5 separate regions of the Homo sapiens genome follow, and all the other regions are linked to region 1. Evidence: promoter capture Hi-C in 16 types of primary human blood cells and fetal thymus (Javierre and others, 2016). All regions are on one chromosome and are shown on one strand. Each heading gives the region's core, a stretch centred on a gene start or on the middle of the fragment in contact. The rest is flanking DNA. Distances are from core to core; before and after follow the strand shown. Region 1 holds the start of SCLY (selenocysteine lyase). Region 2 overlaps RBM44 (RNA binding motif protein 44). Region 3 overlaps PER2 (period circadian regulator 2). Region 4 has its middle 46 kb from the start of UBE2F-SCLY. Region 5 overlaps ILKAP (ILK associated serine/threonine phosphatase).

Region 1 (3,250 bases), core at 421-2,920:
TTGACTGCATTCTTCATTTTTTCATATCCCATCTTTGCATTCTAACTTCCATGCCTCTCCCATCACTGAGACTTCTCTCGCTAGTTTATCAGTGCCTCCTAATTGTTACGCACAGTAGACTTCGGATTGCCTCTCAGCCACACTTTACACTATTATGTGTCTTCTTGACTTTTTTGACATTCCTTCTCAATTCCCTTTCCTTTCCTCCTCTTTTGACTGTTCTCATGCTCCTGTGCATCCATTTGCTTCTTAAATGTTGGTGGGCCCTTTGCTATTGGCTGCATTTGGCAAGAAATGAGCTGCGTTTATAGGGAAGAATGAGAGAGAATGAGTCCAGAAATTTGCAGATTTGCTGTGCTGGAAAAGCCAAGTTATTCTGGACCCCAACAGGACACAAAATAGAGAAAGCCCATGAAAAGCCAATTAAAATTCAACCTCTTGGCAAAGCATGCTTGAAACCGAATTTTGGCTCCAGCCACTACTCGTGTGAACTTGGGCAAGATGCCTTTCTGTATCTTGGATTCCTCATACATAAATACCTACCAGACTGGGTTAATCATCAAGATTAAATTAGTGAACACACGAAAAATACCTAGAACACTGCCTGGCATAGTTCAAGGCTCAATTAAAGGTAGACACTATTATGCCAAAAAAACAAAAAACAACAAAAAAAGTGACGGTAGGATGGCTTCGTGAGGATTTTTGCTCATTTCTACCACTTTCTCAACTGACTTTTCTTAATGGTTGGCGGGACACCAACCATTGGTGGATGTTTACACTTGTGACTGTCTCACAGACAACTCAACATGTCCAAAGCTAAACCCATCATCTTTCCCCCTCCCGTCTTCCCTCTTACCCAGATAAAGGCACTAACATCTTCCCAGTCACTTGTCTAATCCTTGCTTCCTTCCTGTCCCTCATGCCCCAATTCCTATTTAACGGCCTAAACAGATCTTGAATTAATCTTTCCTGCGTTTCCACGCCCACTTAGAGTCCCTCATCTCTGGCCCTATTTTCTCAATGCCCTCCCATCCTCTACTCCAGATCCCCTCAAGTCCATCCTCGATGCGTGACTCTTAACTTCACGCCATCCAGGTCCCCTATGGAGCCGCTCCGACTAACGGACGCGCAGGTCCAGCGGACCTGCTCATCACTGTCCAGGGTGGCCTGCGGGAGACCCCCGGGGCCCTGGCCCTGCTGCCGCGGCCCCGGCACTTCCCCTCGAGGGTTCGCGGGGAACAAGGCCGCGCGGCCCCGGCTCTCCCGGAGTGCACGGTCCCGCGCTCATGCGGCTAGAGGGAGGCACCCGCAGGACTGCCCAGCCGCCTCTGCTCCTCAGGTCCAGCTCGGGCCCCGCCTGCTCTTACGCCGACTAACCGGCCGCGGCCCGATGGCGGCCCTGCCGCAGACAGCAAAGGTCACGGGGCTCCCCCGGAAGTGAAAGTGCGGGGATCCGCCGGCCCAGGAGACGCGGCTTCTAGCGCCCGGTTCCCGGGAAGCTCTGTGACGCGCTAAGCCCCGCCCCCACCCGTCACCTGACCCAGCGCAGCCTCGCCTCCCCGCTGGGGGCTCGGCGGCCCTCTGAAGCGGGTGGATTGGCTGGGGTGCTTCGCTCAGCCAATCCGGACGCGCCCGGGCGTCGCGGCCCCGCCTCCTCCCCGGCGCTCTGGGCCCGTAGCGCTCCGCGGGAAGGAGGCTGGATGCCCGGCAGCAGTGGGGCGGGGATGGAGGCGGCCGTGGCGCCGGGGAGGGATGCGCCGGCACCCGCGGCGAGTCAGCCCAGCGGCTGCGGGAAACACAACTCGCCGGAGAGGTGCGCGCCTTTAGGGCAGGGCTGGGGAGCGGCCGGCGCCTGTCGCCGATTGTCCCGCGCGGGAGGACGAAGGGGGCTCCCGGCCTGTGGCCGCTCTCGCGTGGGGCGTCCCGCGCGGGGATGTCCGCGAGGTCGGCCTAAGTCAGGGATGCGAGCTTCAAGGAGGAGCGGGTGCGAGCTGTGGCCCCGCAAGGGCCCACGGAGAGGTGACTTTGGGGCCGAAACCCGAGTGACTTCCAGGGGTGAGGTTTGCAGGTTCTGGGGAAGCAGAGCCTGCCAGGAAGAGGGCACAGCAGATGCGAAGGGCAGGGGACTTGCCGGAGGTGAACCGGCAGAGCCCCTGAGCCCGGGAAGAACTTTGGGGTTCATTCGGAGCCTTATGGGGCCTCGGAAGTTGATCACGGGGCGATGCAATTTAAGTGTTTTGAAGGAGTCCTTCTGGCTGCTTCCTAGAAAGTAGGGGCGCGGGTAGGCATGGGACGAGAGGAAGCCGGGAAGCCAGTTGGGGATCTTGTAACAACCTAGGAGAGAGATGTGGTGTGCGCCCAGAAACGGATGCGTTGGTAGGAAGCTGGTGCACTGGGGCAGGTGAAAGGGAATCAAGGGTTCTCCCAGACTGCTGGCCCAGCTGCAGGAAACGGGATGGCCACCGCTGAGAAGCGCGGAGACCCGAAGCACGTGGTATCCATACTAGTTAAGTCCGAGAAGAGCAGGAGGCAGGGGTATGCATTTTCTGGTTTGTGTGTCTTCTTTCCAGACCCCTCTTTTTCCTTTTTGTGAGCTCATTCGCTACCCATGCTTAGAATATGAGGGGGTCCAGGCCTAAAGCACACACATTTGGCATTCTACCTTGGTTGGAACAAAGTGAAGGGATCTGGGAAAATATCCCCTAGGGAATCAGTGGAGCGAGATTCCCAAGATTTTTTATTTTTTGGTTATGAAGCTAACAAAGTTGAGCCTGCTCATCCAATACTGATAGCATTTTAAGGAAGCAGCAAATAATGAAGCAAAGGAATGTGTAAAGTATTAATCTGAACAAAATAGATTTGTTCAGCCCAGCAGCAGATTGAAGAGCTACAGTCGCTCAACAAACACTAGCTAGCCTAAGGTACTTTGGATGCTTATTTATAGGAAAGAAAAACAGATATAAGGGCACATGCAAAGTCAAGCCGGGCTGGGGGATTCCTAGGACTATTAATACTAGTACCAGAGTGGTAAAGGATGGCGAGTCAAACTTGTCAAAGCCTTGTACCTATTGAGTGATTTTTTTTTTTTTTTTTAATTGAGATGGAGTCTCACTCTGTCACCCAGGCTGGAGTGCAGTGGTGCAGTCTTGGCTCACTGCAACATCCACTGCCCGGGTTCAAACGATTCTCCTGTCTCAGCCTCCCAAGTAGCTGGGATTACAGGCACGTGCCACCACGTCCAGCTAATTTT
Region 2 (3,250 bases), core at 239-2,738, 230 kb before region 1:
CTGGCAATTTCTTGTTCCCTTGTTCTTTTTCTGATTCTCAACATTATTATTTATTCTATTCATTTAGAAAATATTGATTGTCTACAATGAGAAGCAGAATCGTGGTGATTAATAAAAACTCTTCGATTCATAACCTGGCTCTGCCACTTACTCACCATGTGACTCTGGAAAACTAATCTAACCTTTCCGTTTCTGAGCTTCCTTATCTTAAAATGGAGATGAGAGCCATTACCTCACAAATGTTGATGAGCTTAAATAAGCTTAATACAGAAAAATTTTTAGAACGGTGCCTACCATGGAAGATGTACCCAGAAAATATTAGCTGTTGTTGTTATTACTTACCAATAATTTGGCTTCTTTCTTGGAGAGCACTTAACTTCAACTGTCACTTAAACTATTGTATCCCAAACTTTTTATTTATTAAACAAATAGTTATTACATACCAACTGTGTACACTATTCTAGGCACTGGGAAAGCAACAATGAACAAAAGAGACAAAAATCTGTACTCTTAAGGAGCTAAAATCTAGTGAGGGAGATAAGGCAATAAACAAGCAAGTGAAAGATACAATGTTCTGATGTGAAAGGTCCAGTATATCATGTGTCTTGCCCTGACTTTTCATCGAGGCTTTAAAGTCTGAGTCCTTCCTTTGTTGAACTTTTATGGGATTTACAGTGGTTTTCTACAATTTATAGCCTACTTGCAGTGTTAACAGTAACTAATTGGTCATTTTAATTTTGTCTCTTCGCAATAGAGGGTTCTGTTTTATGTCACTATAGTTTTTCCCCCACAGCATATAGTGCACTTCTGGGCATACAATTTGTATTCATTACATACAGCATATAGTAAATACAATGTAAAATATCTCTAATTACTGTGTAGCCTTTCTTAGGTTGGTTAAGAGAATTAAGCCTTAATGCCCTAAGCCTAAAACATTTATTTAATGAATGAATCTCTCTCCTGTGCATCCAAAATGAAACTAGTTATGTCCTATCTTTGAGAGAATTGAGAAAGTAGTTACATCATTTTCTGTGTTCTATGGTTCAGATGAGGAATCTGGTTGAGAAAGCCTTATTTAGACATAGCCTCCTATAGTTTATCAGTAAGAAAAAATGTTGGGTATGTTTTGTACTACATGGCCCTGAAACACAGCTCAAGTAAATGCAATTGGTATAAACAATCCCAAGTTAAAGTAAATTTTTAAGGAATTTTTATTTTATTATTTTAATTTTCAAATATATTATTGTTGAATAAGCGGTATTATCTTTATGTAATGGTCCTTACTGATTTTAAGAAAACTTTTTAAATGCTTATTTAGGGTGTCAAGAAGAATTGTAAGCAGATTGAATCTGCTAAATTATTACCTGATACACCCGTTCAATTCATACCTCCAAATACATTGAACCTTCGTAGCTTTACCAAGATCATAAAGAGACTGGCTGAACTGCATCCAGAAGTCAGCAGGTAATAACCAAAATTATATTTTAACTGCTTTAAAACTTCTGTGTAAAAATATAGTTCAAGTTAATAACTTAGATATATTCAGAATGTATTCCTTTGGAAAAGACAAATACTCATGTATGTTTTCCTTTTTCATAGAGACCATATTATAAATGCACTTCAGGAAGTGAGAATAAGACATAAAGGTTTTCTGAATGGCTTATCTATTACTACTATTGTGGAGATGACTTCATCTCTTCTGAAAAACTCTGCTTCCAGTTAGGAATTCAAAAAACAATAAAGAGGTAAAGTAATCATATTCTTTTGTATTTGAATATTACTTAAAATTTATAAGCTATTGATTTCATTTTCTTTTTACATAAAAAACATATTAAATTTAAAATAATAATATAATCACAAAATAATATGAAATTTTAAAACAAGCATACTGTAATTAGTTAACTACTAAGGCAAAACTAATTACCCTAAAATTGACTGGCTTAAACAACACTCATAAACTCACAGTTTGCAGATCAGGATTCAGGAGTGACTTAGCCGGGTAGTTTTAGCTCAGGGTTTTTCATGTTGCAGTCAAGATGTTGGCCTGGACTGTAGTCATTCAGAGGCTTCCCTGAGACCAGAGGATCTGCTTCTCAGGGGGCTCATTCACATGTCTGTTGGCAAGAGGCCTCAGTTCCTCACCACATAGGCTCTTCCATAAGGCTCTTCAAATGTCTTTGCATCATGGCAGCTGGCTTCCCCTAAGCAAGAGAGAGAGAGAGCAAGATGGAAGCTGCATTGTCTTGTATTATCTACCCTCAGTAGTCGCAGATACTGCAATTTTTACATACCGAAGGTTTGTGGCAACCCTGCATCAAGCAAGTCTATCAGCGCCATTTTTCCAACAATGTTTACCCACTTTGTGTCTGTGTCACATTTTGGTAATTCATACAACATTTCAAACTTTTTTGTGACGCCTGTATGGTGATTGTGATCAGTGATCTTTGTTACTATTGTAATTATTTTGGGGCACTTTGAACTGCACCCATATAAAACAGCAAATTTTATAAATGTGTGTGTTCTGACGACTCCACTCACTGGCTGTTTCCCCATCTCTTTCCCTCTCTTTGGTCTTCCCTATTCCTTGAGACACTATATTGAAATTAGGCCAACTGATAATCCTACAATGGCCTGTAAGTATTCCAGGGAAAGAAAGAGTCACATTAAATGACTCTTAAAAGAAAGAGCTCACTTTAAGTCGAAAGCTAGAAATGATTAAGCTTAGTGAGGAAGGCATGTCAAAAGCCAAGATAGGCTGAAAACTGGGCCTTTTGTACCAGTTAGCCACGTGGTTCATTGTCGTGAAGCCAATGAGGAAAAGTTATTGATGGGATTACAAGTGCTACTCCAGTGGACAGGAGAATGATAACAAAGTGAAACAACCTTATTGCTGATATGGTGAAAATTTTAGTAGTCTGTGTAGAAGATCATAGCAGCCACAACATTGCCTTAAGCCAAAGCCTAATTCAGAGCAAGGACCTCTTTTCCATTATTTGAAGGTGATGAGAGAGGGGAGGAAGCTGAGGAAGAAAAGTGTGAAGCTAACAGAGGGTTGGTTAGTTCATGAGGTTTAAAGAAATAAGCCATCTTTTTTTTTTTTTCCTGAGATTTTGGTGCACCCATCGCCCAAGCCCTGAGCAGTGTACACTATACCCAACATATAGTCTTCTATCCTTCACCCCACTCCCACCCTTTCCCTCAGTCCCCAAAGTCCAATGTATCATTCTAAGAAGTCGTCTTTCTAACAAAA
Region 3 (3,250 bases), core at 288-2,787, 180 kb after region 1:
AGAAGGCTCAGTTTAAAATAGAGAAAAACTGTTTAACACCTGTGTAAGCACACACACTAAAGAAAACATGACTTGATGCTTGGCATCACGTAAACAAATTCACAAGATGATCCTATTAAGTCAACTGCTTGGCACGCGCTGAAGCTACAGTTAACAATCAGTGAGCACATATTAAATGATAAAATAATGCTGATGGTAAACATTCATAACAGCAGAGTAAGATTTTGGCAGTTTTGTGTTTCGGTAACATAACTGTAACCTTAGATGAACACCTATCCCTTCATGATCTGACTTTAGAGGCAAGGAGTTTGTAACATCTAATGGCCATAAGAATGCAGACTGCTACCTTATCATAGGCATAGGCAGCTGATGTTACTTTGTAAATTAACGAAAAATTAAAGTGTTCTTGTGTTTATGAAGAATAGGTTTAATAGTCAGGCATAAGATGGTTTTACGATGAAAACCTAGTGGATTACAAAGAGATTTCACCTCCATCAAAAAACAGAAAACCCTGGTCCCAGTTGGGCGTGGTGGCTCACGCCTGTAATCCCAGCACTTTGGGAGGCCGAGGTGGGTGGATCGCTTGAGGTCAGGAGTTCGAGACCAGCCTGGCCAACATGGTGAAACCCTGTCTCTACTAAAAATACAAAAAATTAGCTGGGTGTGGTGGCAGTCGCCTGTGGTCCCAGCTACTCAGGAGGCTGAGGCAGGAGAATCGCTTGAACCTGGGAGGCAGAGGTTGCAGTGAGCCAAGATGGCGCCACTGCACTCCAGCCTGGGCAAAAAGAAACTCCATCTAAAAAAAAAAAAAAAAAAAAAAAAAAAAGAAAACCCTGGTCCCTTTTAAGCCTCATAGTCTTGGTCCAATTTTAAGTCAACTGTTCTTCAGTGATAACTTTGAATTTCCACCAGGGACCAATATTAAATTTTCTGAACCATCTTTGGAATATACAATGCAACATGAGGTTTTGTAAAAAGCCGGGCAGACTGGCCTCACTTTTCCCCAAGTGTCCAAATGACCTAAAAGTGCTGGGGACACTGGCAGAGGCCTGAAGCTGCTCCGAGAGAGGTCGGGCTCATGAAAAGAATGAGGGCTGTGCACCCAACCCAGGGTGCAGTGGGAGAGGTGAGCTCACTGCACCCCTGAAAATACAGATGCAGTCGCAAGCTGTCAGACTGAGTGGCAGTGGCTGCTCTCGGCCAGGAGATGTGATGTGGGCTTGGCTGGGTGGAAGCAGATGTCTGGGTGGTTCCAACGGAAGAAAACCAAACAGGACTGGGTCTCACATGTGTTGGTCACAGCCTGGTTTGCAAAGGGAAGTCACCATAAAGAGATGACTGATGACATATTTTAATCTCCATATTGGCCATCATGGTCTGAAAAGGAGACAAGAATAATGCAGAAATATACAGAGGGTCTGTCTGCGTGTGCATTCATCCGATGGAGTTGGCCACACAAACCACTAGGCTTCTTTAGTCCAGAGCAAATGTTTCAACTTTGTTCACTACAAACAAAACCTATGTCAGACTGAAATATTGACCACACCAGAAGCCAAAGCTGTTGGTTTGCCAAACAACGCTTCACACCATTTAATGTGAAACGTTTTGAAATAAAACTAGGAGAGGCTGCTATCTCCATTTGGTATGTATAAAAAAACACTCTACCTTGACTAAATGATAATTCAGATAAAAAGCAGTCCCCAAGAGAGGACAAAATTTGATCTGATCCAAACACCCTGGGAAAGCTCTGGAAGCCAGAGTCCCCAGCTGGTGCAGCAGACAGAGGTCTCGTCACAGTCACAGGACTTCTGGGAGCACTGAGGCAACTTCCCTGACACTAAGAGGCGCTTAGTCTTTCTCAAGTTAAATAACAACTAAAATCTCTTCCCCATCCCACAAAACTCCACATATATATTTTATATATAAAAACATATTTCTTTCCGAACTCTCCCCACTCTCCACAGTTTTAAGTCGCCCCTTCAGAAAACTATGTTGTTTTTTTTTCTAAAACAAAAAAAGCAACATGAGCATATGTGTCCATTTCAGTGGAAACAGCCATGAAGATCTTTCATCTCTTCCAAGCACCACCTGGTGTACCTCGCTGGCTGCCGGGCTGAGGTGGGGCAGGGGTTACGTCTGCTCTTCGATCCTGTGATTCAAGGGGGATCCATTTTCGTCTTCTTTGGTGTCCGACACTTCGCTGAGTCCCAGAGAAGGAATATCTTCCTCATATGGTATGCAAATATTACCTTTTTCCTTGTTTTCACAGTAAACACATTCCTTAAAAGAAAAAAAAAGAGAAATCAGTAACAAACTTGAGATCTGAGTTGTTACAAAAGTCATTCAAATTGGCCGGGCGCGGTGGCTCACGCCTGTAATCCCAGCACTTTGGGAGGCCGAGGCGGGCAGATCACGACGTCAGGAGATCGAGACCTTCCTGGCTAACACGGTGAAATCCCATCTCTACTAATAATACAAAAAATTAGCTGGGCGTGGTGGCAGGCACCTGTAGTCCCAGCTACTTGGGAGGCTGAGGCAGAAGAATCGCTTGAACCCTGGAGGCAGAGCTTGCAGTGAGCGGAGATCACGCTACTGTGCTCCAGCCTGGGCGACAGAGTGAGACTCTGTCTCAAAAGATAAAAAGTCATTCAAACTGAGTAAGGTGCAGGTGACCAGGTGTCAGCCAGGAGGTGGCTGGCAGCAAAGGCCAAAATCCCTGTCCCAGGAGCTGGCACTCTAGTAGCAGAGAGAGACAATAACTAAGAAGGGCTCCAGAGGCATAGGGTATATAGAGGACATCTGTGATTTTCAACTGGACATTCACAGCAGGCCAAAGAAAAGGTGACGCAATGATTTTGAAACGTGTCCACACTCTTTGCCACTCCTTCCTCAAAAGGTGGGGCCTAATTCCTTTCTCCTTAAACCTTGGCTGGACTTAGGCATTTGCCTCTAACAAAGAGTACCTGACTTCTGATTCTAGGTCCTAAAAGGCACCTTGGCTTCCTCTTTTCCTCTCTGGGGAAGTCACCTGCTACACTGTGAGGACATCCAGGCAGCCCTACGGAGAGGTCCCCATGGCAAGGAGCTGAGGCCTCTGCCAAGAGCCAGCAGTGTGTGAGAGGCCTGCAAGTGAGGCTCCTGGAAGCCGGTCCTCCAGCTGGCAGGTGACAGAAGCCCCCACCAGTATCTTACCGTCAACATCAGGAACGACCCTGAGCTAGAAGTACCCAGCTAAGCCGCTCTCAAATTC
Region 4 (3,250 bases), core at 531-3,030, 140 kb before region 1:
TCTCCGCTCGCTGCAACCTCCACCTCCCAGGTTCAAGCAATTCTCCTACCTCAGCCTCCCAAGTAGCTGGGATCACAGGCGCCCACTACCATACCTGGCTAATTTTTACATTTTTAGTAGAGACGGGGTTTCACCATGTTGGCCAGGCTGGTCTTGAACTCCTGACAAGTGGTCCACCCACCTCGCCCTCCCACAGTGCTGAGATTACAGACATGAGCCACGATGCCCAGCAGGTTCTGATCTTGACTGGACCCCTTTTTAGCTGAGTGACTTTGAGCAAACTTTTCATCTTTCTGATAATTTTGTGTGCATGGAAAAGATGACTTAGCATTGGTCACATGCCCTATTCCAAGGATGGTGTTTGAGCTCCAAAGAGCAGGCCACCTGCCAGAGGACCCGTATTTTTTGGGGACAGGGATGAGAATGGGCAAGAAGAGAGCAGATGTAGGCTGGGAGCCTTGAGAACGGGAGAGGAAAGAGGTTTCAAGACATTTTTCTCTAGATTGTGAACATAATTGCACTTTGGTTCCCCCTAGAACAAATTTAAGAAGGACCTAAATTGCTTTTCAAGGCTATTTTAGGAAGTGAACTTGGATCTGACTTTGTTTTTTTTCTTCCTGGGCCTGTGCGGAGGTGGACCATGGGTGCCCATCTTTATTTGGGTTACAAAAATGTGAAGGGGGTGCAGAGGAACAGCGGGAAGAGAGCAGCCCTCCAAAGCATCCCTCTCTGCCCCACCCCAGCCACAATCCTTGGGCCTGGGGACAGTGCTCATGCCCCCACGTGAATCGCTTCCCCACAGACACTCTGACAGGAGGCCGGGGAAGTTTGCTTCCTGTTTTCTGGGGGCAGGGCGGGAGGCAGACAGGGGTGACTGGAGGTGCATGTCCATGACAGGTGGCAGCTGCTTTCCATCCCCAGTGCATCCTGCCATGAGAGCACCTACATCCCAGCCCTGCCCCTGCCACCTAAGATCTCTTCTTACAAGAAGCAGTGCCACCTTTAAAATGTTTCAAATGGTCAGGCCGGGTGCAATGGCTCCCACTTGTAATCCCAGTACTTTGGGAGGCTGAGGAGAGCAGATTGCTTGAGCTCAGGAGTTCGAGACCAGGCTGGGCAACACGACGAAACCCCATCTCTACCAAAAATACAAAAACTTAACCAGGTATGGTGGCGCACACCTGTGGTCCCAGCTACTCTGGAGGCTGAGGTGGGAGGATCACTTAAGCCTGGAGGTGGGAGGCTGCAGCAAGCCAAAATCATGCCACCGCACTCCAGTGTGGGTGACGGAGCAAGACCCCATCTCAAAAAAAAAGTTTCAGATGGTCATAGGTGTGAAAGTATATAATGTAAATAAAATGTTTTAAAAAACAATATTTTTAAAAGTTGTAGCATAGAAGTGATGGCACCAAGCTGCCTTAGTTGAAACCAAATCCTGGCTGTGCCGATTAAAAATGGTGAGGCAGGCTGGGCACAGTGGCTCACGCCTGTCATCCCAGCACTTTGGGAGGCTGAGGCTGAGGCTGGAGGATCACTTGAGCCCAGGAGTTTGAGACCAGCCTAGGCAACATAGTGAGACCTCATCTCTACAAAAAAATTTAAAAAATTAGCTGGGTGTGGTGGCATGTGCCTGTAGTCCCAGCTACTCAGGAGGCTGTGGGGGAGGATCGCTTGGGCTGGGGAGGCAGTAAGCCATGATCACACCACTGCACTCCAGCCTGGGTGACAGAATAAGACCCCATGTCAAAAAAAAAAAAAAAGAAAGGAAGGAAGAAAGGCGAGGCAAGCTCCTCAACCCTCTGGGCTTCAGTGTCATCGCCTGCAGAGTGCTGGCCATGGACACTTCAGGGACTCACAGTGAAGACAGCCCTTGGCCATGTGGCAGGCACATGGCAAACGCTGCTAACCGGGGCCATAGTGATTCACTTTCACAGCAGGGCTGGGAGCTGTGGCTGCACGTGCACGTGAACACATGTGGGTAAATGCTCCCGTCTCTCAGTGTTCCCAGCCCTTCTGCACAGAAGGTCGGGTGAGTCAAAAGGAGAATAATCGGTGATCATAATGATAGGAAACGATCGAGTTTGGGGATTGTCTCCTCCTCCTCGGGCTCGGCTGAGGATAAAGCAGTGCAGTCGGAGTCTGCCCAAGCTGCTGCTATAACAGGCTGGGGACTTAAACAACAGAAGTGCGTTTCTCGCAGCTGTGGAGGCTGGAAGCCTGAGATCAAGGGGTCGGCAGGGTTGGTTCCTTCTGATGCCTCTCTTCTTGGCTTGTCATTTCCTCCCTGCCTCATATGGTCGTCTTTCTGTGCCTGCATCCTAATCTTTTTTTTTTCTTTTGAGACAGGGTCTCGCCCAGTCACCTAGGCTGGAGTGCAGTGGCGCAATCTCCGCTCGCTGCAGCCCCCACCTCCCGGGTTCAAGCAATTCTCCCACCTCAGCCTCCCAAGTAGCTGGGATTACAGGTGTGTGCCACCACGCTTGACTAATTTTTGTATTTTTAATAGAGATGGGGTTTCACCATGTTGGCCAGGCTGGTCTTGAACCCTTGACCTCAGGTGATCCACCCATATTGGCCTCCCAAAGTGCTGGGATTACAGGCATGAGCCACTGCACCTGGCCCTAATCTTCTCTTCTTATAAGGGCACAGTCACATTGGGTTAGGGCCCACCCAGTGACCTCATTTAACCTTAGTCACCTCTGTAAAGACCCTGGGTCCAAACCCAGTCACATTCTGAGGTACTGCTGGTTAGGACTTCAAGATGTGAAGTCACATTCTGAGGCAAGGACACAACTCAGCCAGGACAAGAGCCACTTCCCCAACCATAAAAGTGTCACCCAGGGCAGTGGGCTTTTCTACCTGACCCAACACAGCCAATTTAAGCTGGAATGGAATTAAAGTGTTGTAATTCACGTGAAAAGTCATGGAAAACGGCACTGCAGTAAGGCATTGGCTACGGAAACATCACAAGATTGAATAAAGACCTGCTTTGCATCAACGCACATCATGGCACGTTCTCATTGTGGGAAAATGTGGTTTAATGAGGGAGACACGGGGAGGGGCAGAAGACCTCAGGGAGATTCCAAAGAGGATTCCCAAGCAGGTGCATTCACGGGCATTGGTGAAAGGCAGCAGGGGCTTGTCATCCCGCTTCTGAAAAATGGGCAACTCTCCACTGATGCCTGTGTTCCCCCATGGGGGAGAGTGGGGGTGGAGAGGGCAGGACCGCCAAACCAGCCTGCCGGGGAAG
Region 5 (3,250 bases), core at 516-3,015, 140 kb after region 1:
CACTGCCTCCACCTCCCGGGTTCAAGCTATTCTCCTGCCCCAGCCTCCTGAGTAGGTGAGATCACAGGCGCACACCACCATGCCCAAATAATTTTTGTATTTTTAGTAGAGACATGGTCTCACCATATTGACCAGGCTAGTCTTGAACTCCTGACCTCAAGTGTTCTGCCTGCCTCAGCCTCCCAAAGCGCTGGGATTACAGGGGTGAGCCACCATGTCTGGTCTAATTTTTGTATTTTTAGTAGAGACGGGGTTTCACCATGTTGGCCAGGTTGGTCTCAAACTCCTGGCCTCAAGTGGTCCACCCGCCTCAGCCTCCCAAAGTGCTGGGATTACAGGTATGAGCTATTGTGCCAGGCCAAACACCAATTCAACTAAACAAATAAATTTATATCCCCCAAGAGGGTCATCCCTATCATCTTTTTGCCTCCATTTAGAAATGAGCTGGGTATCAACTTTCTTCTTTTAAAAACAAAAGCTTTAATTAAAAATTTATAAACTTAAGGGAATGAAATTTCTCCCGGGGTCTTTGCGTCAGAAGTACCTAAAATACACAAGAAATTCCTGAGTTAACAAAAAATAACTATTTTGCTTTATATCCCTAATACAAATGGGAAAATGTATTCTAATCCTTCAGGATGACCCTAAACAAATTAAGGAATTGCAAATACTTTCACTTTTCTTACAAGTGACATAAAGACTCTATTAGAAGTATACAAGAAGCAGAAGAAAGCCATTAAAAAGTATTTAGTATGGCCAGGTGTGGTGGCTCACACCTATAATCCCAGCACTTTGGGAGGTCAAGGTCAGGACTGAGGTCAGCAGTTCAAGATGAGCCTGACCAACATGGTGAAACCCTGTCTCTCCAGAAATACAAAAATTAGCTAGGCATGGTGGCGGGTGCCTGTAGCCCCAGCTACTTGGGAGGCTGAAGCAGGAAAACTGCTTGAACCTGGGAGGCGGAGGTTGCGGTGAGCTGAGATAGCGCCACTGCACTCCAGCCTGGGGGACAAAACCAGACTCTGTCCCCAGCACCCAAAAAAAGTATTTAGGATAACCATTACTCAATGTATTAATCCACTTACAAGAATTCCTAATATCCCGAAGTAGGTCACTTTTGCCCAAACATTGGGTCTAACAATCACAACGCCCGTTCTCCGGACAGACTCAAAAACCACATGAGATGTTCCAGACAATCACGCTGCATTCAGTGGTGTCACAGAGCCAGATGTCTTAGGACAAGGGAGGGGACATTTACAGGTAACAGCCCAACATGAAGAGCAAACAACCCTTCCGCTTGTACCAGGTCATATTTTAACTTTTGAATTAACTTGCCCATCTAAATCAGGTCTTTCCACTGCCACTGTACAAGGGAGGAAGTCTTCTTTTACCCAGGTAATAAATATATTTTCAGTTCTTGTAAGCATTCCTCACAATGCAACTTACAGCTTAGTATTAATACTAGCCTGGCCGCCTCTCCTCTGGCTACAATTCAGTCAGATGGTGCCCCAAACTGAGCCCCATCCCCAGAGAACTGCCTATCACCTTCTTTCTCACTCTGGAATACTATGAGAGGTATTTCAATTAAACACAATGAGACCATCCTACATTTTGCTGGCCACAACTGGGAATGGCTTCTAAAAATGATAATACTGCCTGCCTGTCAGGCACTATTCTAAGAGCTCCACACATCTTCTCATTTAATTCTTATGAGATAGGTACTATTATTATTTACCGATGAAAAAACTGAGGCACTGAGGTCAATTACCTGTTCAAGATCACAGAGCCAGTAAGGAGTGGAGTGGGGATTCAAAGCCATGCAGTCCGTGCTTTTAGTGAGGTACTATGCTGCCTCCATACATGGGCACCCTTCCAGAAACTTCATAAACATCAACTCATTTTACCCTTACAACAATCCTATGATGATAATCCTGAGATTTTATAAAATCTCTGGAAATAATTTTTGCATCATCAAAAGAATCTAACTTAGAAGTCTGTATGTGGATTCTTTAAAAAAAAATCTATAGGTCATAGATACATAAGGAAACTACTGATTAGTCAAAACCTTAGATTTTTTTTTTTTTAAATTGAGACAAGAGTCTCGCTCTGTGAGCCAGGTTGGAGTGCAGTGGTGTGATCACAGCTCACTGCAGCCCCAACCTTCTGGGCTCAAGCAATCCTCCCTCGTCAGATTCCCGAGTAGCTGAAACTACAGGCATACACCACCATGCCCAGCTAATTTTTTAACTTTTTGTAGAGACGGGGTCTCACTATGTTGCCCAGGTTGGTCACGAACTACTGTACTCAAGCAATCTTCCTGCCTCAGCATCCCAAAGTGCTGGGATTACAGATGTGACCCACTGCTCCAGGCCCTTACATTCTATTTTGAATAAACTGAAATTCAAAGCATTGGGGGCTGCAATCATTGGACAAAGTGTGACCCTGACCTAAAAATCTGGAAGAGGCCCCTCCCCTAATCTTAAAAATATTAGAACCCTAATAAGAATACAAGACTAAAAATGTCCATTAATCATAGTTAATCTCATCTAGAACTTTTTTTTTTCCTCAGTTATCTACATTCTGGAGCTAAGTCTACTGGAAGTTATATACTATGCTGAGAAAAATACCCTTGGGTTGATCATATTCAGGTTAAAGGTTGCTGTATCCAATAAAGTTAAAAAAGGATGTTAAAATATTTTGGCTAAATTGTTTTTTATACCTCAATTTTTTCAACTATAAAATAAATCCAGGTGTTTTCCAAACACCACAGAGGTATTATCAGAAAAAAGGGGGGACAGGTTCCGCCACACCCCCCAACCACAGTATGAGTTTAGTGTATCCTTTCCACTTTCCTTAATGCTCATGCACATGGACTCATGCATTTTAATTTGTAGAAGACAGAGTCATACTCTACACAATACTCCACATATAGTGTTCACATAACCCATCAAGGCATGCTCCAGGCCAACACACCCAAGTCTAATTCATCCTCTCCAACAGCCACACATGGGAAGCATCTCCACTCATTCGACCAGATCCTTACTGATGGGTTCAAGCTTTTCCCAGTTCTTCATATGATAAGTGACGCCACAATCAACAATCTGATACATGTATTCCTGCTTAATCTGCTAGACTGCTCGTCAAAGGATATTAGTTTAAATCTGATAGAAGCCAAAATCTGTTCCCCAAAAAGTTGTAATTTTCACTCCCAAAACACTTTATGAGAAAGTCTACTTCGCTACACATTCAC

The links. The method cuts DNA at HindIII sites, captures the fragments that hold promoters and counts their contacts. A CHiCAGO score of 5 or more calls a contact.
Region 2: a fragment that was not itself captured here is called in contact with the fragment with the promoter of SCLY in region 1 in 1 of 17 cell types (total CD4 T cells); the score reaches 5.2 in total CD4 T cells.
Region 3: a contact is called between a fragment that was not itself captured here and the fragment with the promoter of SCLY in region 1, in 1 of 17 cell types (neutrophils). The highest score is 5.4, in neutrophils.
Region 4: a contact is called between a fragment that was not itself captured here and the fragment with the promoter of SCLY in region 1, in 5 of 17 cell types (non-activated CD4 T cells, activated CD4 T cells, erythroblasts and 2 more). The highest score is 6.2, in non-activated CD4 T cells.
Region 5: a fragment that was not itself captured here is called in contact with the fragment with the promoter of SCLY in region 1 in 6 of 17 cell types (activated CD4 T cells, M2 macrophages, non-activated CD4 T cells and 3 more); the score reaches 7.2 in activated CD4 T cells.

What each region holds. Positions count from the first base shown.
Region 1 is chr2:238,059,331-238,062,580 of GRCh38, forward strand. SCLY (selenocysteine lyase) reads left to right here and starts at 1,671. Exons shown (of 12, transcript NM_016510.7): 1 at 1,671-1,813. The coding sequence starts at 1,725. The region is part of intron 8 of UBE2F-SCLY (UBE2F-SCLY readthrough (NMD candidate)); the gene reads left to right. RefSeq lists silencers at 1,081-1,290, 1,431-1,880. The HindIII fragment of the contact is 10,603 bases long and covers 1-3,250 here.
Region 2 is chr2:237,832,679-237,835,928 of GRCh38, forward strand. It overlaps RBM44 (RNA binding motif protein 44), which reads left to right. Exons shown (of 16, transcript NM_001080504.3): 14 at 1,319-1,464; 15 at 1,600-1,745. The coding sequence ends at 1,723. Among named protein-coding and RNA genes, the nearest start is that of RAMP1, 25 kb to the right of the region's middle. The HindIII fragment of the contact is 2,460 bases long and covers 259-2,718 here.
Region 3 is chr2:238,244,245-238,247,494 of GRCh38, forward strand. PER2 (period circadian regulator 2) reads right to left here. Exons shown (of 23, transcript NM_022817.3): 23 at 1-2,280. The coding sequence ends at 2,131. Among named protein-coding and RNA genes, the nearest start is that of HES6, 5.8 kb to the left of the region's middle. RefSeq lists an enhancer at 1,904-3,103. The HindIII fragment of the contact is 6,913 bases long and covers 1-3,250 here.
Region 4 is chr2:237,918,932-237,922,181 of GRCh38, forward strand. No RefSeq gene overlaps it. Among named protein-coding and RNA genes, the nearest start is that of UBE2F-SCLY, 46 kb to the right of the region's middle. The HindIII fragment of the contact is 7,029 bases long and covers 1-3,250 here.
Region 5 is chr2:238,196,167-238,199,416 of GRCh38, forward strand. All of the region lies in intron 1 of ILKAP (ILK associated serine/threonine phosphatase), which reads right to left. Among named protein-coding and RNA genes, the nearest start is that of ILKAP, 5.9 kb to the right of the region's middle. The HindIII fragment of the contact is 2,578 bases long and covers 477-3,054 here.